7 separate regions of the Homo sapiens genome follow, and regions 2, 3, 4, 5, 6 and 7 are each linked to region 1. Evidence: promoter capture Hi-C in 16 types of primary human blood cells and fetal thymus (Javierre and others, 2016). All regions are on one chromosome and are shown on one strand. Each heading gives the region's core, a stretch centred on a gene start or on the middle of the fragment in contact. The rest is flanking DNA. Distances are from core to core; before and after follow the strand shown. Region 1 holds the start of CDKL5 (cyclin dependent kinase like 5). Region 2 overlaps MAP3K15 (mitogen-activated protein kinase kinase kinase 15). Region 3 overlaps PDHA1 (pyruvate dehydrogenase E1 subunit alpha 1). Region 4 has its middle 17 kb from the start of PDHA1. Region 5 holds the start of SCML1 (Scm polycomb group protein like 1). Region 6 overlaps PHKA2 (phosphorylase kinase regulatory subunit alpha 2). Region 7 overlaps PHKA2 (phosphorylase kinase regulatory subunit alpha 2).

Evidence for each region. The method cuts DNA at HindIII sites, captures the fragments that hold promoters and counts their contacts. A CHiCAGO score of 5 or more calls a contact.
Region 2: a contact is called between a fragment that was not itself captured here and the fragment with the promoter of CDKL5 in region 1, in 1 of 17 cell types (naive CD8 T cells). The highest score is 5.3, in naive CD8 T cells.
Region 3: a contact is called between a fragment that was not itself captured here and the fragment with the promoter of CDKL5 in region 1, in 9 of 17 cell types (total B cells, non-activated CD4 T cells, total CD8 T cells and 6 more). The highest score is 10.4, in total B cells.
Region 4: a fragment that was not itself captured here is called in contact with the fragment with the promoter of CDKL5 in region 1 in 8 of 17 cell types (naive CD4 T cells, activated CD4 T cells, naive CD8 T cells and 5 more); the score reaches 10.1 in naive CD4 T cells.
Region 5: the fragment with the promoter of SCML1 here is called in contact with the fragment with the promoter of CDKL5 in region 1 in 1 of 17 cell types (non-activated CD4 T cells); the score reaches 6.1 in non-activated CD4 T cells.
Region 6: a fragment that was not itself captured here is called in contact with the fragment with the promoter of CDKL5 in region 1 in 5 of 17 cell types (naive B cells, total CD8 T cells, fetal thymus and 2 more); the score reaches 8.8 in naive B cells.
Region 7: a contact is called between a fragment that was not itself captured here and the fragment with the promoter of CDKL5 in region 1, in 1 of 17 cell types (neutrophils). The highest score is 5.0, in neutrophils.

Annotation. Positions count from the first base shown.
Region 1 is chrX:18,423,897-18,427,460 of GRCh38, reverse strand. It overlaps CDKL5 (cyclin dependent kinase like 5), which reads right to left and starts at 1,853. Exons shown (of 18, transcript NM_001323289.2): 1 at 1,766-1,853. RefSeq lists a silencer at 1,533-1,602 and an enhancer at 1,938-2,232. The HindIII fragment of the contact is 7,790 bases long and covers 1-3,564 here.
Region 2 is chrX:19,361,545-19,365,108 of GRCh38, reverse strand. MAP3K15 (mitogen-activated protein kinase kinase kinase 15) reads left to right here. Exons shown (of 29, transcript NM_001001671.4): 26 at 2,259-2,371; 27 at 3,516-3,564. PDHA1 (pyruvate dehydrogenase E1 subunit alpha 1) reads right to left here. Exons shown (of 11, transcript NM_000284.4): 11 at 3,391-3,564. Among named protein-coding and RNA genes, the nearest start is that of PDHA1, 19 kb to the right of the region's middle. The HindIII fragment of the contact is 5,010 bases long and covers 1-3,564 here.
Region 3 is chrX:19,345,852-19,349,415 of GRCh38, reverse strand. PDHA1 (pyruvate dehydrogenase E1 subunit alpha 1) reads right to left here. Exons shown (of 11, transcript NM_000284.4): 2 at 45-104. Among named protein-coding and RNA genes, the nearest start is that of PDHA1, 3.7 kb to the right of the region's middle. The HindIII fragment of the contact is 2,379 bases long and covers 1,125-3,503 here.
Region 4 is chrX:19,325,359-19,328,922 of GRCh38, reverse strand. No RefSeq gene overlaps it. Among named protein-coding and RNA genes, the nearest start is that of PDHA1, 17 kb to the left of the region's middle. The HindIII fragment of the contact is 943 bases long and covers 1,117-2,059 here.
Region 5 is chrX:17,735,976-17,739,539 of GRCh38, reverse strand. It overlaps SCML1 (Scm polycomb group protein like 1), which reads right to left and starts at 2,047. Exons shown (of 8, transcript NM_001037540.3): 1 at 1,860-2,047. It overlaps NHS (NHS actin remodeling regulator), which reads right to left. Exons shown (of 9, transcript NM_001291867.2): 9 at 3,546-3,564. The HindIII fragment of the contact is 866 bases long and covers 1,652-2,517 here.
Region 6 is chrX:18,977,332-18,980,895 of GRCh38, reverse strand. The region is part of intron 1 of PHKA2 (phosphorylase kinase regulatory subunit alpha 2); the gene reads left to right. Among named protein-coding and RNA genes, the nearest start is that of PHKA2, 5.0 kb to the left of the region's middle. The HindIII fragment of the contact is 6,188 bases long and covers 1-3,564 here.
Region 7 is chrX:18,939,142-18,942,705 of GRCh38, reverse strand. It overlaps PHKA2 (phosphorylase kinase regulatory subunit alpha 2), which reads left to right. Exons shown (of 33, transcript NM_000292.3): 8 at 1,031-1,177; 9 at 2,658-2,711. Among named protein-coding and RNA genes, the nearest start is that of PHKA2, 43 kb to the left of the region's middle. The HindIII fragment of the contact is 3,992 bases long and covers 1-3,564 here.

The DNA of each region.
Region 1 (3,564 bases), core at 604-3,103:
TTTAATAGAGCCAAACGGAATTTTTCCCTAATTAGGTTTCCTTGTACTTGTGAAATGCTCAGCATACAGTGCTGGCAGCATTAGCTTCTCTCTTCTGGCTCCTTCCCCCCTCAACCACCCTCACCTCCCCCCCAACCCCCGCCCCGAAAAAAAGATTTCCTTCCCAAATGTTCTCTTCTCTGCATTTGTCAACAGAAACACCTACTGGTGGTGTCAAACTGCTAAGACTGCTGCAGGCTTCCTTATTCCTGGTTTCAGTGTCAACGCCAAAAATTCTCAATCCTAAAATAGTACTTTTAATAAAAAGAAATTAGAAGTCTTGCTAGGTACTCAACCTATCATATTCTCGAAAAGCAGCACGCCTTTTTTAAAAATCTATTATTAATGGACCCTAATTGGATTGTTAATCATAAGATCATACTATCACCTTCAACACTAACATACAGGAACAAGTAAATATAGCCTCTTCACATTTTGTGAACAAAACATTTTAAAACACTTGAAGGAAATAAAAACAAATTTACATCTAAGTGTCACTCACATGTAATTCCGAATAGCCTCGGTGAAGATGTCTTTTTTGTAACCCTACAGCAAGAAAGAAACAAGCTGGAAATGTTCCAGCAGATGTTACCTAAAACGATAATCCTGTTCTATACACATCTCTGTCTCCTGTTTCTGACAAACGCTCTCAGACAAATTAATTTGTGTAATCTTTTACATTAACTATATAACCATTACGTTCAAACAAACCTAATTCAGATGCACAGAAAGAAATCATTCGGTGTCAACAATACTTTCTAAAATCAGCTTAAATTCCAGCCAATTAAAATAGATTGTGCTAACAGAATACTGATCTGCAACTACTTAAATATCACAGCACCCGTCTAATCTCACTGTAGAGATACTAAGGTCAGGCTTTTCTTATTCAGGCATCTGTTCTTTAACACTCAAATGAAGCGAAAAACAAAACCCTCAAGGAAGATCTGCCTTTACACTGAAATATGTTCAGGTTATTTTTTTCCCCAACGTGGGCACAAAACGTGTCAATGCAAGGAGGACCTGTTCGTTCTGGGAGACGGTTCCAAATCCCAGAATCCGATTTCTATGAGGGTCCAAAAGGTATGAAGGTCTGAGAAGGGGCCATTCTTCTTCCCCGCACTATGCCAGTCGTGAACTTCACAGCATCGCCTGAAACTTGTCCGGGGGAGGTTGCGGAGCCGCGGGGCCGGCGCCCGGTCGCTAGCCCACCCTCGCGGGCAGCCAAGGTCAGAAGGGCCCGGGCCGCGACTGACGGCCCCTGGCGAGTCTCGGGCTCCCTCCGAACTCGGGCAGGGGGCTGGGGCGCGCAGGCCCCTCCTCGGCGCCGGCGGGAAGGGGCTTACCTCGCCGCAAGCCCCGGGGAGCTCGTGCCGCGGGAGCGGCGGGGCGGGGACGCCGCAGACCCGCCGCTGAGGGGAACCCCGCGGGGCGGGCTCGACCCGCCGCCCCTCTTTCACACCCTTTCGCCTCCCCACACCCCAAAAGACAGCCCCAGCCCCTCGGGGGAAGCCCTTCCAGAGGCGCAGGGGAGCGCTGAGGAGGGGCTACTCCGGGCTGGGACGTCCTCACCGCGTCGCCCCGTTCCGGGGGAACCGGCGCCCCCGCCCCTTCTCTTGTCCGCCCGGGGGGACTGGGTGGGTCTCCACTCTCAGGAGAAGCTGGGTGGACGCGGGGCCGATGTAAGGGTAAGAAGGCTTGGCGGGCGGGTGGCGGCGCGACTACTCACCCCGCCGAGTCCCCCACTTCTAGCAGGGGACCCCACAGCTCCTGAGGACGCCGTCGCCGCTTTACCTTCCCCAGCGGCAGAGACAACTAATCGAAACCTCCGGCCCCGCCCTCTAGCAGAAGCGAACGCGCAGCCTATTTTGCTAACTGCCCCGCCCCAGCCGGCCCGTTCGGACCAATGGGAAAGCACCTCAGGTTTTGCCCGATCCCGCCTTTACCCCGCCCCCTTCTGGTAGGAGCCAATGAGGAGGAAGCGCTTGTCCTGGGGTTCGGGCTCGCGCCGCTCGTGCTCGAGTCTCCGAAGCCGAAGAACGCTGGTTCCTTATACAAGCTCGCCTGCGCGCTCACGCGCGCGCCGCGCCTCCTGGCACGCCAGGTTTGGTTGCCCCGCCAAGCCCTAGCAACCTGGGCTGGAGAGGCTGAGAGGGGCGGGGCCCGAGCCTGGAGTCGACGCCGGGGGGTAGAGCGGGGAAGCAGGGAGAGGGTCGACGGTGGTGGGGTGGGGAGATCGTGACTGAGAAAGGGGTGGCTGCGGGGGTAGGAGGTGGCGAGGAGGCCCCGGAATCCGCCTGTCACTGCGGAAAAAAGAGGGAATCCTGCCTGCAGCGCAGCTACCCTGCCCTCCCTCCGGAGGGACCCGTGCCGGGGGCTGGGGTGGGGGAAGTCGGAGAAGAGGGGGAGAACATACTCGGGGCGGGAGCTGAGAAATACAGGATGGAGGATGGTTTATCTCTGTTGTTGGTAAAAATGATATCGAAGTCCATTGCTGCTGCTGCCCAACTGTTGCCGCTGCGTGTGCACACACACACGCACATATGCACACACACAACACACACTCACACGTACACTCATCCAGCAGCTTGCGGTCCCTTGGGTGAGTTAGGCGCAAAGACCTAGCAGCCTGAGGATTCCTTACACAGCAGCTGGGCGCGTGCAAAGAGCTGTTGCAGCAGTAGCAGCAGCAGCAGCAGCAACGACCCACACCTCCGCTTCGGTCCGATGCTCTGCCACACAAGATCCCCCAGCTGGCTTGAAAGCAATGAAGTCATCGCCCAACCAGTACAAATGTAAAGATCTTAATACCCACCATGGATCGGGTTTCCAAGGAGGATGAAGAGGTGATGAAATTGAAGGAGATAACATTTCCAATGCTACTTTTAGAAAATAAAGAAAAAAAATTTTTTTAAAAAGACATTGGGGACAAATCTATGGAAAGCTGCATAATTATTTTCGCTTTAACAAGCAAAGGAGAAAAATAGGGTCTCTTCTGGTTAGGAAAAGCACGGAAAATAGGCAGTGTATGAGGTCATAGCTGCCACCAAATTAGAAAGATGCAGTACTGTAATAGGAAATAGATATTTGGGATAAAATCCACTTAATCTATTCCTGTAGTGAATCTGGTAACAATATGTAGCAGCATGCTCAGTTTGGCCACTTGATACCAAGCCAATAGGATTTTCTTTTTCATAACGGTGAATATTTGATGAGGAAATGAAAGTGGAAGCATATTAGAAAATTTTACAGGTAGGAGCAATGAATTAGCAAAGAGGGAAAATGGAGTCAGAGGCAACAACAGAGGGCTTCGCAGAGTCTCCTGCCTCCTCCAGATGCAAAGTAACAGTGCTGTGACCTCTAGCTTCACCCACGTGGATCCAGAACTCCTGGGGCAATCACTCCATTTTCATCCCTGTATATCAGAGCCTTTGTACTAGGAATTTCAGCAGCATTACCTTTGACTCAAATGAATAATTTTTTAAAATTTTATTTAGACCTGGTGAACCGGAAGTAACAAATTAATTA
Region 2 (3,564 bases), core at 664-3,163, 940 kb before region 1:
GTCTCCCCTCCCGAGTAGCTGGGATTACAGGCGCACGCCACCACAACTGGCTGATTTTTGTATTTTTAGTAGAGACGGGGTTTCACCATATTGGCCAGGCTGGTCTTGAACTCCTGACCTCAGGTGATCCTCCCGCCTTGACCTCCCAAAGTGCTGGGATTATAGGCTTGAGCCACTGCGCCCAGCCCAAAGAATTTTTTTTTTTTTTTTTTTTTGAGACAGAGTTTCGCTCTTGTTGCCCAGGCTGGAGTACAATGGTGCCATCTTGGCTCACCGCAACCTCTGCCTCCCAGGTTAAAGCGATTCTCCTGCCTCAGCCTCCCAAGTAACTCGGATTACAGGCATGTGCCACCACGCCTGGCTAATTTTGTATTTTTAGTAGAGAGGCTTCTCCATGTTAGGCTGGTCTCAAACTTCTGACCTCAGGTGATCTGCCTACCTCAGCCTCCCAAAGTGCTGGGATTACAGGCTTGAGCTGCCGCACCCGGCCAAGAATTTCTTTATAACCAATTTTTACACAGAAAGGCGGAGGGAAAGTTAGAGTCGTATTTTTAGGTTTTGTGGCTGGCTTTGGGGAGGAGTTCTGGTTTCTGTGCCCCGCTTTGGGGAAGAGGGATTCTATGGTGCCTCCAGGAGAATGGACTGAGAGAGGGAGGCAGGAGAAGGTCAGAGGAAAACTTTTTCTTCTGAGGCTGCTGCTGAGGCCATTTGGGGGCACTGTTTTCTGAGCCCCAACAAAAGCTAGACGTGGTTCCAATCTGTCAGCCCTTTCCCCCAAGGCATGCTATGCCTGAGCTGGCATGTGGGGGAAGTTTGAGGCACAGTTGTGCCAAGTCATATCTGATCCCAGAGAGCCCATGAGCAAGACTGGGTTTCAGGAGGCGGTCCCTTGGGAAGAGCCCAGCCTGTGGACTCTGGGCGTTACTTAACTCCTCTGCCTCAGTTACCTCAGCTTCAAAACAGGGGTTTAGAACAACCAGTGCTTCCTAGAAGTGCCGCAGGGCTTCAGTGACTGAATTCATGCAGTGTTTGGCACAGTCCTGGATTCTGGGTAGGAAGTGCTTGGTGGATGTTGGCAGGAGCCATCCTCCCCACCGGCAGAGCAGCATGTCTCACTCACTGTCCCTGCTCTGCCCCATTACAAGCAGGGGCTTCCAGCTGGGTGCGGTGGCTCACACCTGTAATCCCAGCACTTTGGGAGGCCGAGGCAGGTGGATCACTTGAGGTCAGGAGTTCGAGACCAGCCTGGCCAATATGGTGTAACCCTGTCTCTACTAAAAATACAAAAATTACCCATGCATGGTGGCGCATGCCTGTAGTCCCAGATACTCGGGAGGCTGAGGCAGGAGAATTGCCTGAACCCAGGAGGCGGAGGTTGCAGTGAGCCGAGATTGTGCCACTGCACTCCAGCCTGGGCCACAGAGTGAGACTCTGTCTCCAAAAAAAAAAAAACAAAAACAAAATAAGAAGCAGGGGCTTCTGTCCCCTTCGTTTAGTCCCTGTGTGAGGAGGAAAGAAACTTACCATTCTATTCTAGTTTCAGCTGCCTTATCTGACTTAGGGAGCCAGGTTTAAATAATCACATCGTCCTTCTGGCTGAGTTCTGATTAACATCGGCATCTTTTGGTTCACGATACGTTTTTGAGACAAAACTGCCTGAGTGCGTTCAGGCTACTGTAACAAAATAACCAGAGACCAGGCAGCTTATAAACAACAGAAATGTGTTTCTCACAGTTCTGGAGACTCGAAGTCCAAGATCGAGGTGCCAGCAGATTCCGTGGCCAGTGAGGGCCTGCTTCCCCATTCACAGATGGCCATCTTCTCGCGGTGTGTCCTCACATGGTGGAAGGGATGAGGGAGCCTCTGGGGTCTCCTTTCACAAGGACACTCCTCTCACCTCACCTCTCAAAGCTCCGTCTCCTAACACCATCACCTTGTGGGTTAGGATTTCAACATATGAACTTGGGCCGGGTGAGGGGCACACATTGAGTCCATTGCAAAAATATATCCAAGCTGTGAGCACTGGCCTTTGTTGTCAAGGGGAGGAAAACACAAGGAAGGTTCCCCTCTGCAGACTGAAGTCTGAGTCACAGAACCTGAAGAAACACATGTGCTTCCCTCTCTAGGCTGACTCTTAGACTTGTCCCATTTTCCATTTTTTTTCCATCTCTAATGTATGCACAACAGATGCTTGAGTTAAATTGAATGGTGTTGAATGCTCTCTGGATAATGGCTTTTTTTTTTTTTTTTTAAACCAGACTTTTGGAACACCTAGTTGAAAAAGAGAGAGAGTACCAGAATCTTCTGCGGCAAACTCTAGAACAGAAAACTCAAGAATTGTATCACCTTCAGTTAAAATTAAAATCGAATTGTAAGTCATTTTCCAATGAGACAGACTTTAACATCTAGCTAATATTCTAGTTAGCTTTGAAGAAACATTTGAGGTTATCTTCTGTTAATCCAGGACTCCAGTAGATTCTAGACTACTTCTCAATCATAAAAAGGGACTACTGATAGATTCAACAACATGGCTGCATTGTAAATGCAGTATGCTAAGTGAAAGAGCTAGATTCACAGCCAGCACCGTAGCTCGTGCCTGTAATCCCAGCACTCTGGGAGGCTGAGGCTAGCAGATCAATTGAACCCAGGAGTTCAGGACCAGCCTGGTCAACATGGCAAAACCCCATCCGTACAAAAAATAGAAAAAAACCAGCTGGGCTTGGTGGATGCATGCCTGTAGTCCTAGCTACTTAGGAGGCTGACATGGGAGGATCACCTGAGCCCAGGAGGTTGAGGCTGCAGTGAGCCGAGGTCATGCCACTGCACTCTGGCCTGAGTGACAGTGAAACCCTGTCTCAAAAAAAAAAAAAAAAAAAAAGATTCAAAAGGCCACATACCATGATTCCTTTTCCTCCAGAAAAGGCAAAACTACAGGGACAGAATCAGAATGGGGAGGTGACGGGACTGATTGTAAAGGGCACATGAGGACTTTTGGGAGTGACAGTCATTTCTGTATCTGTGCTGCCACCTTCATAGCACATTGGACACCTAAAAAGGGTAGTTTACTGCATAAGTAAATAAATATGCCTCCATCAACCTGACATTCGTTTTGGGCCACTTAGAAACGAGCTCCAGAGCTACCTCTTGGAATGTGGACTAGATAAGCTCTGACCTCAACACTAAAACCTATTTCCTTGTAGGATTTCCAGTGCAGTTAGGGATGTGATTCCTAAGGAAAGGCATTTGAAAGATGTGGGGATAAGCATTTAAAGTGGTAGACCTAACATGTCAAATTCCAAACTAACTGAAGGTATCCTAGATGAGGAGGCTTTCTAGAAAGTGAATCTCAGAATTATGAATTGTGTAATACGTATTAGCGTGGTTCAGTGATACAGGGTTAATTCATCTCTTTTTCACATCACATTTACATTCTGGAATCATTTATTAATCCAACTGGTTACTTTTGAAGAGTTTTATGGTTAGACTAATATATAACAAATTGCCAATCGTTACAGGTATTACAGAGAACCCAGCAGGCCCCTACGGGCAGAGAACAGATAAAGA
Region 3 (3,564 bases), core at 1,065-3,564, 920 kb before region 1:
GTGTACCTGTGAAAAAATTATTAACAAAGTAAAACACCTCTTACCTTAATTTCAAATGTAGCATCATTTGCAAAATTACGGGATGCTACCAGCACTCTGCTTGCCTTAAAAGACAAAAATATACAAACAAATCAGTACTTTTTAATTGTCAGCTATTTTGGAAAGTATAATAATCAGTTATCAGAATGAAGTTATGGAAATTTAATAAGCCCCAACATATTCATAGGCTTCTCTTCCACCCTGTGCACTGTGTTTGCATCTTCCTTGGCCTCCAAAATGAATCCATGCTTTGGCCAATGAAACAGGATTATCCCGCATCTGAAGGCAAGCAGCGCAAAGAGGGGCAAAAAACAAACCCATCCTTTGTTTTCAAAGAAATTATAGTGAGAATATAATGAAATTAGTGGCTAAAGAGACTAGATCATCTGTGAGCTGTGTCTGTTTATGCCATTCTTTTGTTTGTTTGTTTTGAGACGGAGTTTTGCTTTTATCACCCAGGCTGGAGTGCAGTGGTGCGATCTCGGCTCACTGCAACCTCCGCTTCCCGGGTTCAAGTGATTTCTCCTGTCTCAGTCTCCCGAGTAGCTGGGATTACAGGTGCCCACCACCACGCCCGGCTAATTTTTATATTTTTAGTAGAGATGGGGTTTCACCATGTTGGCCAGGCTGGTCTCCAACTCCTGACCTCAGGTGATCCACCTGCCTTGGCCTCCCAAAGTACTGGGATTGCAGGCATGAGCCACTGCGTCTGGCCTTTTCATGCCATTCTTAGTCATAACCAGATACTGTTCATTTTGAGCAAGCCAAAATTATACTTCAAATAAAACTATGATTTAATCTCCACTCTAGGCAAACTTGACTCTTCTATCAAATTGGATCTGTAAGAAAAAATATTTTAAATTGATTGAAGTATGAGATAAATACTTTAGGGAGACAAGACAAAAGAAAAGATACTTAGCACTCTCTGACTTAAACACAATGGGCTTGAGCCAGCTGTTTTATAATTTATAATTTGAACAGCCTAAATCTTGGACAGGCTCCTCCTGAAGCCCCAGTAGAAATGTTCTCTGAAACACTGTTCTCTTGATGTTTGGGTGGCTGTCACTGTTTGGAGGTAAAAAGCTTGGAGGCGGGGGGTGAGAAATGATTCCTTTCCAGTTTTACAACTGAGCAAACCTGCTCACAGCAAAAGTATTCTATGTAATGGCTAAGGTTTAGGTTAGACCACAAAATTTATCCAGTAGTATTATCATACTATTTTAGCTCCCTTCTGCCACATTCTCACACACTGACGTGTAAACCAACATGATTTCTCCATAAAAAGCACATCTGATGTGTTCATACCTTACCTAATCCAGCACTGGACTGATCTTGGTGAGAAGAGTTAAGACTGATCTGCCAAGTATACCCTGGAGTGTACAAGCCAATAGGCAGAAAGCTAATTACGTATATCTTCACCCCTCAATAGACCATTATTGGACAAAGCCAACAAACACAGACAATGACAGTGCTGGAGGAAAACAACTGAAATACTAGGAATCAGTGTTTCAGTTAACTTACAGGCAGAGACAGTCCACTAATGTATCTCAGAAAAAGTGAAGGAAATTTAGGAATTTGGGAAGAAGTAAAGCTGAGAGAAGGTGAAACAGCAAATCAATGGTTATATTTAGCAATCAAACAGATGTGTTATTCTTGGCAGTTAATAAATATTTTGTGGGGCCAGAAATTTATTGTATTGTGAAATAAATTTCCAAATACAACTACAGAAACTGCAGTTTTTGGAAGGCAGGAGTCCAAACCAGCCAGGCGACAGTAACAGAGAAAAGGTAACTTCTTTCTCAATCCTAGAGTTGAAACAATGAGGCAGGATAATGCTATACAATAAAGAGCAAGAAGGGGCCCAGTGCTGTGGCATGCGCCTGTAATCTTGCGCCTGCAAAGATTAGGACTGCCAGAAAGCTACTTAGATACTTTCTCCCATGGCTTCATTACTGTGTATCTCAAAAATAAGAACCACTGATATGAGTGAAAGGAACAAAGTTAAAGAAGCTAAAAGTCCTATCAGAAGTGTGTGTGTATCATTTCTGAGTGAGAGCTTGTTGAAAAGATAAGTTTACCATTCATTTTCTCTGGAGAGCCATAAAAAGATTCTCTGTTAAATGGGATTCCTCTCTGACAGAGACCACGAACAACCCACTCAAATTTTAAAAAATAAAAACTAGGCCGGGCATGATGGCTCACACCTATAATCCCCAGCACTTTGGGAGGCCAGGGTGGGAGGACCACTTGAAGCCAGGAGTTCAAAGCCAGCCTGGGCAACATGAGACTCTCATCTCTACAAAAATAAATATTAAAAAATTAGTCAGGTATGGTGGCACACACCTGAGGCTACAGTGAGCTATGACTGTGCCACTGCATTCCAGCCTAAAAAAAAAAATTAATTAAAAAAAAGTAAAACTTTAACTTCCTAAATACATAGGAACCATTCATGTGAAAGAGGAAAAACGTTTCAAAAATTCCAGATTCTAACAGTGTAAATTAAAACTCTTACCTACCACTTATAAAGCCAAAACATTGCTAGTAAAGATCTCACAAAAGGAGCCATACAGAAATGCAAACAATAAAATAACATTTTAAATGCATTCAATCTTCTTCCATGAAATAAGAACTATGAAAACTATAAACCTTATTCAAAAATAAAAACACAATCTTGATATTCATTTCAAAGTTTCACACCAAACACTCTTTGATGAGACAATGGCAATCTTTAAGCCTGAGATAAATCTCCCTACCTGCCTGGTTTTAAGAGAGTGAGAGTAATCCCAGCACTTTGGGAGGCCGAGGTGGGAGGACTGCTTGAGCCTGGAGATGGAGACCAGACTGGGCAACGTAGCAAGACCATGTCTCTAGTAAAAAAAAAATTTTTTTAATTGGCTGGGTGTGGTGGTGGCACATGCCTGTGTTCCCAGCTACTCAGGAGGCTAAGGCAGGAGGATCGCTTGAGCCCAGCAGGCTAAGGCTGCAGTGAGCTGTCCTGCTACTGCACTCCAGCCTGGGTGACACAGAGACCCTGTCTCAAACAAAACGAAAGTAAACCAGGGAGAATAAAAAAGGAAAAAACACACAGCGTCTTGGGAGGTTAAGGGGATTATCTTGTGTCACAGCCATCAGACCAGCTGCCTACCCTTCTCCCTCCCCTTCTCCCTCCCTTCATGGAGTATCACACAGATGGTAGGAGTCTAGTGCAGTAAGTCTGCCTAATTTGGGTGAGCCACTGCTTATTGTTTACTGTCAAGATTTTTGTGAAAGGCTTATATGCAAAATGTCTTTTTACATGTATAATATAAAAAACTAAAACGTTGATCTATTTTGTTACTTATAGTTAAGTAAAAAGACATCCATAAGTATGAAGAATTACAAAATACAAAGAGTCAACACGTTAGTTTATTATTCCACCCTTTAAAAAAATAAAAGTGAAACTTTTAGTTCTATCCTTAAAAGCTTCAGGAATGGTTCCTAATTAGTCCATGACAAGTTGAGTGACACAGAAAACTTCTAATTATC
Region 4 (3,564 bases), core at 339-2,838, 900 kb before region 1:
TTGTCAAAGTAAGGCTTCCTTTCCCACCCAGTGATGGAGGGCTGTTTATGTGTGGGGTTGTGGAGCTGATCATTCTCGTTATGGACAAGCATTCAGCTCTGCACACTGGATTGCATGATTACTGTCTGTTTCTCAAACATTTCACCCAAGCTCTCTTCTGTTTCAGAGCTTTGAACTTGCTGTTTTCTTCTGCATAGAGTGGCCCCCCCTCTAGATCTCTGCACAGATTCCTCTTCTCATGATCCATGCCTCGGCTCCAGCAACACTTTCTCTTGGAGGCCACACTGGCCTATGGTTACAGAAAAGTTTAAGGAGGCATCATCAAATGGTCAAAGCACAAGGGCATAGGCATCCAGAGGCGGTGTGGACCTCAAACACAGAGAAGGGGGTGCCAATGTATGGGAAATGGGCAGGTAGTGTGGGTGGAAGGAAATGAAGACAGGCGATTCAAAGTACATGCATGCGGCCAAGCGTGGTGGCTCACGCCTATAATCTCAGCACTTTGGGAGGCCAAGGCAGGAGGATCGCCTGAGGCCAGAAGTTCAAGACCAGCCTGAGCAACATAGAGAGACCTGTCTCTATTATATATTTTTAAATATATATATATATATATATATATATATATTTAAAAATATATGTACATGCACGTTCAGCAAAGGCAGGTTGGAGAGCAATCTGTTTCATTTTGGCTAGTTGCGGTGCTGTGTATCTTCTGCTTCTACTATCAAAATCCCACTTTCCACCTTCTCCATCCTCTCCCGTGGCCCGGGAGGCTGACCTGTATGAACTGCATCAACAGAGTCAGTGGGTGACACCAGCAAAAGATGGAAGCCAAGTGGGGTCACCGTAATTATCCCCTCCATCACCCTCTCCAGACAAGAGGCCGCTTCAATTTGATTTCCATCTTAGAAAGATGACTTTGGTGACAGTGGGGAAAGGGGGCTAGAAGGGAGCCGGAGGAAGGAGGGCAGTTCGTGTGGTGTGAAGGATAATGCAAAGCTAATTCTGCAGCTGAGGACTTATGGCACAGAGTGGAAGGGGACTGGCTCCAGGGAAGCAGCAGGAGGAGCCCACTGCCTGTGGGGTTGGGTTGAGAAAGGAGGAAATATGAAAGCTTGGTTCTGTACAAGTTGCATTTCAAGTTCCTGTGGGACAACCCGATAGAGACATACAATGTGCAGGAGGACACACCCTCATCAAAGCAGACCCAGATGGCTTGTTCAAATAAGTTTTGTGTTTTTTAGAAATATAGCTGGGAGCTGTGGCCCATGCCTATAATCCCAGCACTTTGGGAGGTCGAGGCAGGCAGATTGCTTGAGTTTAGGAGTTTGAGACCAGTCTGGGCAACATGGCAAAACTCTTGTCTCCACCAAAAATACAAAAAAGTAGCTGGACATGGTGGCACACACCTGTGGTCCCAGCTACTTAGGTGGCTGAGGTGGGAGGATCACTCGAGCCTGGGAGTTTGAGGCTATTATGAGCTATGATTGTGCCGCTGCACTCCAGCCTGGGAAACATACTGAGACCCCATCTCTACAAAAAAATACAAAAATTAGCTAAGTGTGGTGGTGCATGCCTGTGGTCCCAGCTACTCTGGAGGCTGAGCTGGGAGGATTGCTTGAGCCTGGGAGGCAGAGGCTGCAGTAAGCTGTGATCACACCACTGCACTCCAGCCTGGGTGACAGAGTGAGACCCCCTCCCCCCACCCAAAAAAAAAAATACACACACACACACATATATATATGCACACACACACACACACACACATATATATATATACACACACACACAAAATATAGGCTAATTTATAAAATATCAAAAAATGCAAAAAAGAAAATAATCACAAATAATCCCATTATATAGACATCAGCATTAATTAATTCATTAATATGCTATATCTTTTCATACTTTTCTCCTTTCCTAGTTTGGATATCTACATTTTTATTTATCAGTGTTTAAGTATTTTAAAATTAAACAAATGTGAGTGAATTCTCTATTTTCAAAAACACAGATTAAAGTTTTTCTAGAGCTGTGATCAGCAAACTTTTTCTGTAAAGCTTCAGACAGTACATATGATAGGCATTGTAGGTCATATGGTCCCTATGTCACAACCGCTGGACTCTACCACTGTAGCAACTAAGCGGCCACAGGTAATAGGTAAACAAAATGGGCATGGCTGTGTTCCAATAAAACTATATTTATTAAACAGCTGCTGGTTGAATTTGGTCCATGGGCCAAATCCAGTTTGCTGATCTCAGCCCTAGATTAACACTTCCAGCTGGGCAAGGTAGCCCATGCCACCTGTAATCCCAGCACCTTGGGAGGCCAAGGTGGGTGGATCACTTGAGGTCAGGAGTTCGAGACCAGCCAGGCCAATGTGGCAAAACCCCGTCTCTACTAAAAATACAAAATTAGCCAGGCATGGTGGCATGTGCCTATAATCCCAGCTACTTGGGAGGCTGAGGCAGGAGAATCACTTGAACCCAGGAGGCAGAGGTTGCAGTGAGCCAAGATCATGTCATTGCACTCCAGCCTGGGCAATAGAGTGAGACTCTGTCTCAAAAACAAACAAACAGACAAACAAGAAAGCCCTTCCAATCTTAGTCCTCTTCTAGGGGTTACCACAATAGTCAGTTTTGTGGGCATTTTTCATGCCTGTTATTCTATGTGTTCACATAAAAGTGTGTGTGTGTTTAAGAGACAGAGTGAATTCAGTGATTCTCATCATTGGCTTTACATTAGAATCACCTGGGAGCTTTCAAAGCCCTTATACCTGAGTCCTATGCATGATTCCGATGTAATTGTCCGGGGCACTGCCCGGACATTGGGAGTTTTAAAAACTCCACAGTTGATTCTAATGCATAGATTCTAATGCACAGCCATGATTAAGACCCATGAATCTAAAGAAATACATCATCTTATTTTTTCTCTCTACATAAGTGATAATGGCAATTATTGTTTGGCAAACTTTTTTTCACACGAATATTTCTTAGAGATCATTCCATGCCAGCACATACACATCTTCCTCATTGTTTTAAATGCTACATTGTATACCAGAGTATGGGGCCATCTTCATTTAGGTAAGCATTCTAATACTAATGAGCGTTTCCTTGTCTTCTAGATTTTCATCCTTACAAATAATGCTGTAATAAACATCCTCCCACATGTTTCTTTGAGCATGCATGTGAGTGTTTTTCTTTTTTGAGACAGGGTCTTGCTCTGTCGCCCAGGCTGGAGTGCAGTGGCATGATCATGGGTAACAGGAGCCTCGACCTCCCAGGCTCAAGCAATCCTCCCACCTCAGCCTCCCGAATAGCTGGGACCACAGGTGTGAGCCACCACACCTGGCTAATTTTTGTATTTTTTTGTAGAGAGGGGTCTCACTATGTTGCCCAGGCTGGGAGTGTTTCTTTAGGGTCTATATCAGCAAGTGGAATTGCTAGGTCAATGGGTTTGCATATTTTGGATTTTATTGCTATTGCTATATTACCTTCAAAATAGCAGTGCAGGCTCACAATCTCATCACTCCAATTCTGATATCCAAAAAGTTCTGAAAGTTTAAAG
Region 5 (3,564 bases), core at 798-3,297, 690 kb after region 1:
TTCCTTTTCACTTTTTCCCACAAGATAAATTACAGCTTTACAACATTTTCTCAGAGCCCAACCATGACTAGATTCTACAAAATTAATTTCACTTTTAAACCTCAAATTCCACAAAAATGAGTTTAAAGGAAACTCATTTATATTTACCCCGGAAATCTAAACTCTTGATAATACCACACATTTTAGTTTCTTCTCACTTCTTCCCACAAGATAAATAATTTCAGCTTTACAACATTTTCTCAGAGCCCAACCATGACTACACTGTGCAAAATGAATTAATTTCACTTTTAAATCTCAAATCCCGTAAAAATGAGTTTACTTAAAATGAAACTCACTTGCATTTACCACAGAAATTTAAACTCTTAATTACACCATATACCTTAATTCCTTTTCACTTCTTTCCATAAGATAAATCACAACTTTACAACATTTTCTGAGCCCAACCATGACTAGATTGTGCGAAATTAATTAATTTCACTTTTAAATCTCAAATCCCATAAAAATGAGTTTACTTAAAATGAAACTCACTTGTATTTACCACAGAAATTTAAACTATTCATTACACCATACACTTTAGTTCCTTTTCACTTCGTCCCACAAGATTAATTACAGCTTTACAACATTTTCTCAGAGCCCAAGGCTAGATTGTGCAAAATTAATTAATTTCACTTTCAAATCTCAAATCTCGTAAAATGAGTTTACTTAAAATGAAACTCACTTATATTTACCACAGAAATCTAAACTCTTGATAACATAAGAACAAGAGGCCGTCTGATTTTCTAAAAGACTTTTTTTAGACATTAAAGACATTTTCAAAAGTCGTAAATATTCGCTCCGGAGGCGCAAGGCTTTCACCTGCCATTAATTCATCAGATAAGGCACAGCTCACAATGAGGCGCCACTCCCACCGGGACCACTTTGAGGAACACACAGCAAAACGCTCTGTTTGTTTTAAGAACAATCACTTTCTAAACCTTCCTGCGGGACTCTCAAAGGCAGCCCTTCCTTTGCCGCCAGAACCGCATCCCATCGCCCAGCACTTGCCGCAGGCCGGACAAGTGAGGCCCAAAAGGGCACCCAGCCCACGCCCCGCTTTAGAAAACACCGCGCGGCAAAGCTGCTTGGAAAATCGCTATCTTTTAGTCAACCTGAAGCCAGTTTGCCGCACTCGGGGAGAGCCGGGGAGAGGAGGGAGGGACGCGATCCGCCACCAACCAAATCAGGGCCTTTCCTGTTAACGACCACGCGGCAAGGGGGCCGGGCCCTCGCACGCCTCGACGGCCTCCCCCACTCCAAAGGGACTCCGATTTCGCAGGATCTCCCGCCTCCCGCCTCTGCTCCCAACACCCTACGTTTTTCTCTTCCTCCTCATTTACGTATTTACAATAAAACAGCGAAGCTGCACAGTCTGTCTCTAAATCAAACGCGGTTACCATCAAAGCCTCAGACTCTATGTCTCAACCGCAAAAGGTCTGACAGGAAATCAACTCGGGAGTTTGTCAATTCTTTAAACTCAAAGCTCTGTTAACGAAATCTGGATCCTTCCTCGCTCCCCACCTGCCTCCCCTGACAGGAGAATGACTGTAAAAGGATCCTGTCGTCCCCGAAAGTCAGCACCAAGCACTTCACAAATTGTCAAATCTCAAAAGCTTACACGCGCGGGCACTCCGGAAAGGCTGTGGGGACCACCCAAAGCACCCCCCTCCACACCGCGGCTGAAATTGGAGGCTGCGAAGTCAAGACTCGCTCTTCCCCGCAAAGCAAACCCTCTCTCCTCAGGAGAGCCCCGGCCCCTAAGCCAAATCGTGTATTCCCGTGACGGAAAGTTCAAGGTGAGGAAAAAGTACGACTGGACAGACCTATTTTAGTGACAGAGCCTGTCACGCCGGCCTCCGGAGGTCGCGGTAAAACTGCTCGCAGTAGTCCTGCCTCTCCGATGGGCGACAGCTGTGACCGTTAGGCCACTCGACGCTTCGGAAAGGTCCTGGCACCGGAAACCGGGCCTGGTCACGCGCACGCGAGACCAGTGATGCCCTGACCCCTGAGTGGATCAGAGAGCTCCCGCGACGCCGAATTCCCACACTCGCGGTTGGGGGGGGGGGGGGGGGGGGGGGGGGCGGGACTACCCGCTGACCAATCGGAGTCTGGCCACTGACAGGCGTCACCGTTGATCGGCCAATCCGCGGGTGCTCTCCCAGTCCTTGGGTGAGGGCGGGAATTTGCTAAGGAGATGGCTGTGGGGCGGGGCCGAGGGCGGGAATTTGCTGAGGAGATAGCTGTGGGGCGGGGCCGAGGGCGGGAATTTGCTGAGGAGATGGCTGTGGGGCGGGGCCTCTTACCTCAGGTTTTCCTTCGCAAGACCCGCAGGATTGAAAATGGACGTTAGGCCTTTCAGAGACTCGCGCGCTGAGTGGTTTCTGCGGCTGCGCAGGAGGCTGGCGCGCATGCGCAACCCTTCTAGTGGCGTTGTAGTTAGGGACGTGGTGTCCCCCCTTCGTTGTTGGGGTGTCCGAAGCTTTTTTTTTTTTTTAATGTGATCCCGCCCCTCCCCCGCGCTCTGTGACGCACCAGAGACGTCGTCGTAAACTGGGTTTCCTGGACGCACGCCAGTGATTGACTTGGAATGAGGAGAGGGGCGGGGCCTTAGCAGTTGCCCTGAGCCAGGTCTGGTAGGAAGGGCGAGGGGGGCCAGGGTGGGGGGCGGGCAAGATATTTCCAGTCTCCAGCACCCACAAGTTGGACTGGGGAACTAACGCAGACCTTGAAGGCAGATTTACTGGATTGGACCCCCAGCTCCAACACAGTCCTCCTATGGCCTTAGGCAAGCCAAGTAACCGCTTTGTGCTTCGGTTTCCCCATCTGTAAAATGGGTATAATATGGGGACTACATGAGTTAATGTATGCAAAGCACTTAGAACAGTACCTGGCATAGAATTTTGCTATTGTAATAAAGGCTATGTGACATCATCTAGTGGCATATAGTCTTACATACTTATATCGAGGCTGCTCATCTTGGGAAGGAGACACAGTCTGAGTAATTATCAGAAGCAAAGCAGGCAGATATTTCAAAGTAAAGCTATACATCTTTTCTTGGCCCAGAGAGGAGCTACAAAGAAAGTATACTGGACGTTGGAAATGTATCATTTTTCCTCTCAAATACGAAGCTAGATTAAAGCCCATTATAGATATAGTATATGTTTTTTTTTTGTTTTTGTTTTTGTTTGAGACGGAGTTTTGCTCTTGTTGCCCAGGCTGGAGTGTAGCGGTGTGATCTCGGCTCACTGCAACCTCTGCCTCCTGGGTTCAAGCGATTCTCCTGCCTCAGCCTCCAGAGTAGCTGGGATTACAGGCGTCTGCCACCATGCCCAGCTAATTTTTGTATTTTTAGTAGAGACGGGTTTCACCATGTTGGACAGGCTGGTCTATGTTCTTTTTGCTCCTACTTTTGCCATAACAGACCCTGCCCTTATGTCCTGTTGCCTGTAAAACACTGTTGCGAAGCCCCAAGAAATCAATTACGTAACAGTGAAGAGAGAAACCGGTTGTTTAATTGCAGTCACGTTT
Region 6 (3,564 bases), core at 756-3,255, 550 kb before region 1:
AGAAATCATTTTGTGTTAAATATGCCAAGCTAATCACCATTTGAAGGGGCGGCCTGCCCCTCCACACCTGTGGGTATTTCTCGTCGAGTGGGACGAGAGACTGAGAAAAAGAAATAAGACTCAAAGACAAAGTATAGAGAAAGAACAGTGGGCCCAGGAGACCGGCGCTCAGCATACAGAGGACCTGCACCGGCACCGGTCTCTGAGTTCCCTCAGTATTTATTGATTACTATTTTCACTATCTCAGCAAGGGGAATGCGGCAGGAGAACAGGGTGATAGTGGGGAAAAGGTCAGCAAGAAAACATGTGAGCAAAGAAATCTGTGTCACAAATAAGTTCAAGGGAAGGTACTATGCTTGAATGTGCACGTAGGCTAGATTTATGCTTTTCTCCACCCAAACATCTCAGTGGAGTAAAGAGTAACAGAGCAGCATTGCTGCCAGCATATCTCGCCTCCTGCCACAGGGTGGTTTTTCTCCTATCTCAGAATAGAACAAATGTACAATCGGGTTTTATACAGAGACATTCAGTTCCCAGGGGCAGGCAGGAGACAGAGGCCTTCCTCTTTTACTAATCTTCCTCAGCACAGACCCTTCACGGGTGTTGGGCTGGAGGACTGTCAGGTCTTTCCCGTCCCATGAGGCCATATCTCAGGCTATCTCAGTGGGGAGAAACCTTGGACAATACCCGGCTTTCCTGGGCAGAGGTCCCTGCGGCTTTCCGCAGTGCATTGTGCCCCTGGTTTATCGAGAATGGAGAATGGCGATGACTTTTACCAAGCATACTGCCTGTAAACATTTTGTTAACAAGGCACATCCTGCATAGCCCTAGATCCCTTAAACCTTGATTGCATACAACACATGTTTTTGTGAGCTCAAGGTTGGGGCTAAAGTTACATCTCAAGGCAAAACAGTTGTTCAGGGTACAGATCAAAATGGAGTTTCTTATGTCTTCCTTTTCTACATAGACACAGGTAACAGTCTGATCTCTCTTTCTTTTCCCTACAATCATTCTTCTGTTAGAGGTAATAGTTGGTTCACATAATTTCAGTAAGGGCTGAAATTATTAAATTAATTAAATTATTTAATATTAATTATTAATTATTAAATTAAATTATTAGTTAAGCTAACATCTTAATTCCTTTTCCTGTATCTGTGAAAGAGAAGAACTTTTCCCATTAGTCATTTGCCAAATATACTTGCTGCTAAATATTATTTGAATCTTTAATGCAAAGAATGAAAGAGCTATGGTTACAAAAAGGTCCTTTTGCAGGTTTGATTTTGTAAATATATATACTCTAGGAAGTATCTTTAAACATTTGTTGCCTTTAAAAGAAATTCTTAGATTGTTTTGGCTCAGGTAAGAAATATGAACTTTGTACATTTTTTTCACTAACAGCTGTTTGAAGGCTCCTTAATAAAAGTATTAAGTATGAAATGGTGATGAGAATATGGATCAGAAGGAAAAACAATGGTCAAGGCAGTGTTCACTGTAACGACAGATTATTTGGTATAATAAAGCAAATAACTAAGAGACTGGGACAGTAAATACTGTTATTTAATGGCCACGGAATTTAAAATGAGAAGAATGGAATAAATAAAACATGGAGTATGGAACAAATAGTAACAATAATAAAGAGGAATTTGGGAGAGAGTTAAAAAAGATATAATTAAGTATTAGAAAATAATAATATGGCAGAAGAATAGGAAGAGACTGGAGTGAAAGTGTTTTTTTGTTTTGTTTGTTTGTTTGTTTGTTTTTTGAGACAGTCTTGCTCTGTTGCCCAGGTTGGAGTGCGGTGGCATGATCTCACCTCACTGCAGCCTCCACCTCCTGGGTTCCAGTGATTCTCCTGCCTCAACCTCTGGAGTAGCTGGGATTACAGGTGTGTGCCACCATACCTGGCTAATTTTTGTATTTTAAGTAGAGGTGGGGTTTCACCATGCCAGGCTGGTCTTGAACTCCTGACCTCAAGTGATCCACCTGCCTCAGCCTCCCAAAGTGCTGGGATTACAGGTGTGAGCTACTGCTCCCGGCCAGGAGTGAAAGCATTCTGAGGGCCTTATCCCATTAAGAAGGAGGATGAAGGTATTATCCTAGCTTTTAAGATAAGAGTTTGTGTTTAAGCATTACCATTAATATATGTGGCATATATAACTTTATTTTTATTTTAATTTTTTTTTGAGACAGAGTCTCGCTCTGTCACCCAGGCTGGAGTGCAGTGGTGCGATCTCGGCTCACTACAACCTCTGCCTCTCAGGTTCAAGCGATTCTCCTGCCTCAGCCTCCCGAGTAGCTGGGACTACAGGCATGTGCCACCACGCCCGGCTAATTTTTTGTATTTTTAGTAGATACGGGGTTTCACCATGTTAGCCAGGATGGTCTCCATCTCCTGACCTCATGATCCGCCCTACTCAGCCTCTCAAAGTGCTGGGATTATAGGCGTGAGCCACCGCGCCAGGCCTCTGGAATATATAACTTTAAAAACGATTGCAGAATAAAGAAAATCTGATCATCTGAGTGAAGGGAGGAAAAGGCTGCTGGGGAGGGTAGGAAATAAAGAAAAAAGTGTGGTAAATATAAAGTACAAAATAAGATGCAAATAAATCCAACTATACAGTATTAGTAATCACAAGAGTCTTCCTCATTAGTATAGTGGTGAGTATCTCCACCTGTCACAACGAGTATAAATGTTGAAATCCACCAGATAATAGAAATTATTATTATTATTATTATTTTGAGACAGAGTCTTGCTCTGTCACCCAGGGTGGAGTGCAGTGGCATGATCTTGGCTCACTGCAACCTCCGCCTCCCGAGTTCAAGCAATTCTCCTGCCTCAGCCTCCCGAGTACCTGGGATTACAGTCACCATCATGCCCAGCTAATTTTTGTATTTTTAGTAGAGACGGGTTTCGCCATGTTGGCCAGGCTGGTCTCAAACTCCTTACCTCAGGTGATCTGCCCGCCTCGGCCTCCCAAAGTGTTGGGATTACAGGCGTGAGCCACTGCACCTGGCCCAGGTAATAGAAATTATTTTTTTAAAACTTTTTAAAAGGTGTGTGTCATTTGTAAGAGACAAAACCTAAAACATAGGATACTGAGAGGTTGAAAGTAATATAGTGGGACAAGATATACTGGACAAAACTAACCAAAAATACGTTGATGTATGAATATCAGACCGAGTAGACTTTGAAAATTTTTTTTTTGACTTTGAAATTTTTTAAAAATTATATTAGGGATACAGAATGGTATTGCTAGATGACAGAGGGCTAATTCACTAAGAAAAATATAGCAATTTTAAATCTGCAGAATACTAACAACATAGCTTCAAAGTATGTAAAGCAAAATTTGACCTAACTATAGGAGAAGTTGACAAATCCATAATCTTAGTGAGAGTTTTTAAACCCCCTCTCTCAGATACTGTTAGATCAAGCAGAGAAATAATTAGGCCATAGAAAATTGGAGCACCGTAAGAAACAAATTCGATTAAGTACACTTACATAGAATTCCGCACTGAACCAATAGGAAATACTTACTTGTTTCAGCTTCACAAGATATTTTTTCA
Region 7 (3,564 bases), core at 486-2,985, 520 kb before region 1:
CCAGCTAATTTTTTTTTAATTTTTTTGTAAAGTCAGGGTCTCACTCTGTTGCCCAGGCTGTTCTCCAATTCCTGGCCTCAAGTGATCTTCCCACCTCAGCCTCCCAAAGCTCTGGGGTTGCAGGCATGAGCCACTGTGCCTGGACGTGGTGTGCATCTTAATAGATGTGTAATCCAGTGGAAATGCGTGAGCTTTGCAGCCAGCTGGGCCTGAGTTAGAATCCTAGTTCTGTCACTTACTAGCTGCTCGAAGTCTCAGGGTCCTCAGGTGTGAATTGGACATGGTACCCTAAGTCCTTCTTCATATGAAAGATTCAATGAGCTTATGTTTGCAGGGGTCTAGCCCCATGTCTGTACGTGTTAGATCTCAGTGTTAATTCCTTCCTTTCCCAAACTTTTCCTGATAATTTCAACTCCTTTACAAGTTTCCAGCGCCTAATCCAGCCACTTATTTATAATTGAGGCCATATTATAGTGCCTCTAAGTAACCCTAGAAAGATTCTAGGACTAAACTAATTCTGTGGTTTACCATTTTGTCTGAGTGTTCATGAGATCTTCTGGATTTGACTCCTCCTTTAAGTGGTTTCTGGATCACCCAGTCCAACTGGTCACATTCCACAGAAGCCAGACATTTCTCCAAGCTGGCCCCATGTATGTGTTCTTTTCTGGTCTCTGTCTTCATAGCCAAGACAGCTTAGCCTACTGACACAGGTGGCCCTATAGTTCCTCCCCTACATGTCCTAAAGGTCTGGCAAAGTCAATAGGGCATGGAAGGAAGGGAGACAAGCAGTTCTTAGCGTGGGCTTCAGACAGTACCATGCTCTCCCCAAGCCCTGACTTCTCGCCTGAGGAATAGGAATCATTGGCTGGATATACAGTGTTGGCCAGCAGGGGCCATGTTGGTAGGACAAAGCTCTACTCAAAATTGGCAACCGTATTCGAATGTTCCCTTGGGGCCGAGCTCATGGTCCCTAGATACTGCGCCTATTAGCGCATCTCCAGGTTAAACCACCTCTTTGTTTTTCATTCAGTCTATTCTGTTCTCCATGCTGCCAAGAGCGTCGACATCTAAAGAAATTGATGCTGGACTTCTTTCCATTATTTCCTTCCCGGCCTTTGCAGTGGAAGATGTAAACCTTGTAAATGTGACCAAAAATGAAATTATTTCTAAGCTCCAGGTAAGCATTAGTCATGCTGGTGCCCTTCTGTCCTGTGTGATGTGCATGGAGCAGCTCACCCATGCCTCAGTTCCCCATGAGGTTAATTGCTTGATTTATCTAAGCAGATGCATACAGCGTTCAAAGCTGAGTCTACAGGCAAGAAAACAAAGTCTCCGAGTGATTTAGTGGCTTGGTTCTCTCCTTGAGAAGCAGAACTGGCACTCAGGCAGGCACCTTTGAACCCCAGTTTGTACCAGTACCATACTTCTAAGGCAGAGCTACTTAACCCTTTAGAGGTCACAGACAGTGTATAGAGTCACTGCCAGAAAAAAAAATGCATATGTCCCAATATCCTCAAACTTTACACACAATTTCAATGGACTTGCCAATCCCAAAGTTACCTTCAGGTTAAAATAATCCCTGTTTTGAGGTGAAATGCAGTAACCGTGATACACTAAACTGAGAATATTAAATACTCCAGCCAGTTGAAACTATCGGTAAAATTATCAAAGAATGTAAGTTTCCCTAAGCTGAAATCTGCAGATTGATTGTCCTACTTAGGTTCCATGAAAAATGCTTTTGTCCCTTGGAGTCCCTATGTCTCCAATCATATTCCCAAAAGAAAGCAGCTGTCTCAGTCAGGGTTCAGTGGGAAAAAGGGAACCCCTTTAGGTAGTTGAAGTAGGAAGGGAATGAATACAGAGAATGAAGTGTTTACAAGAAGAGCGGGTTCTAGGCTCAGCCTCCTGGGATGACTCCCAGGACAGTGCGGTGCTGGTCGCTAGGGCTAGGGACGTGGTTGCCTCCATGACCCTCGCGAGAGCCACATCTGCTGTAGCAGCCTCCACATACTTACGGAACTGGAGAATGGACACCCAAAGCTGTGATCTATGGATTAAGGGCGTCAGATTAAGAGAGTGCTGCCCCTGCCCTCCTTTCGTAGCATCCAGGAAGCTGGGGCAGAACCCTGGAGCCTGCAGCCCAAAACCAGCAGCGACAGTCCTAAGCACAGGAAGCTGCCCCCTCCCTTTCTGCTAATCTTTGTGGAGGTGCATCTGACCTTAGAGCCTCCTCTGCAGCCAAAGCCTAACTTCCAGGAGCCTGGGGAATGTCCTTGCAGCTTTCCAATCTTGCAAGTAGGAGCAAACCAATCCAAGTATCTGCCTTGGTGGCTTTTCTAAATAGTGAGGGTCCTTTTAGGTCTCTGTGTAATACAGTAAATCAGAATGAAGGCATGGTCGTTCACTGAACTCTTGGTAATAACTCTTGCAGCCCTGATACTCTGATGGAATGTTTTGGCGTTCCCTTCCAAGTACCGATCAAACCTGAATTGATTTTGCTTATTACTTAAATATATTAATAACTATACTGACAGCAAAGAACACTTGGTATAAAATTCATTACTAAAAGATTCATGGGAAAGAGGGTGCAGGGCTGACTTGAATTAAAAAGGCAAAAAAATTTCTCTGAGCTCATCGAATGTACTTTCTCTTATTAGGGGCGTTATGGATGCTGTCGCTTCCTTCGAGATGGTTATAAAACTCCAAGAGAGGTTGTATTTAAATATTGTTTCTTATCTTTCCTCAACTGTTTCATCTCTAAGTTGCCAATGTGTTGTTCTCCCTCTGCTGATTATAATTTTATGTTGGAATATTGGAAAGGGAAGTATTAATTTTGGAGTCAGCAAGCCTGGAGCCAGGCAATAGCATAGTATCTTTAGTAGGGACGGTGAGCTGGTCATTTAAAACCAGCTTGGCCAGGCGCGGTGGCTCACGCCTGTAATCCCAGCACTTTGGGAGGCCAAGGTGGGCGGATCACGAGGTCAGGAGATCGAGACCATCCCGGCTAACACAGTGAAACCCCATCTCTACTAAAAATACAAAAAATTAGCCGGGTGTGGTGGCGGGCACCTGTAGTCCCAGCTACTCAGAAGGCTGAGGCAGGAGAAAGGCGTGAACCCGGGAGGCGGAGCTTGCACTGAGCCGAAATCGCGCCACTGCACTCCAGCCTGGGTGACAGAATGAGACTCCGTCTCAAAAACAAAAACAAAAACAAAAAACCAACTTGTAGGCCAGGTGCAGTGGCCTGTAATCCCAACACTTGGGGAGGCTGAGGAGGGAGGATTGCTTGAGCCCAGGAGTTCGAGACCAGTCTGGGCAACATAGTGAGACCTTGTCTCTACAAAAAAAATAAAATAAAATTAGTGAGGCAGGTGTGATGGCATGTACCTGTGGTCCTAGCAACTCAGGAGGCTGAGGTGGTAGGATCACTTGAGCCCAGGAGGTCAAGGCTGCAATGAGCAGAGATCACACCATTGTACTACAGCCTGGGTGACAGAGTGAGACCCTGTCTCAAAAAAATAAAAATTTCTTTAAAATTTTAAAAATAAATAAAACCAGCTTGTA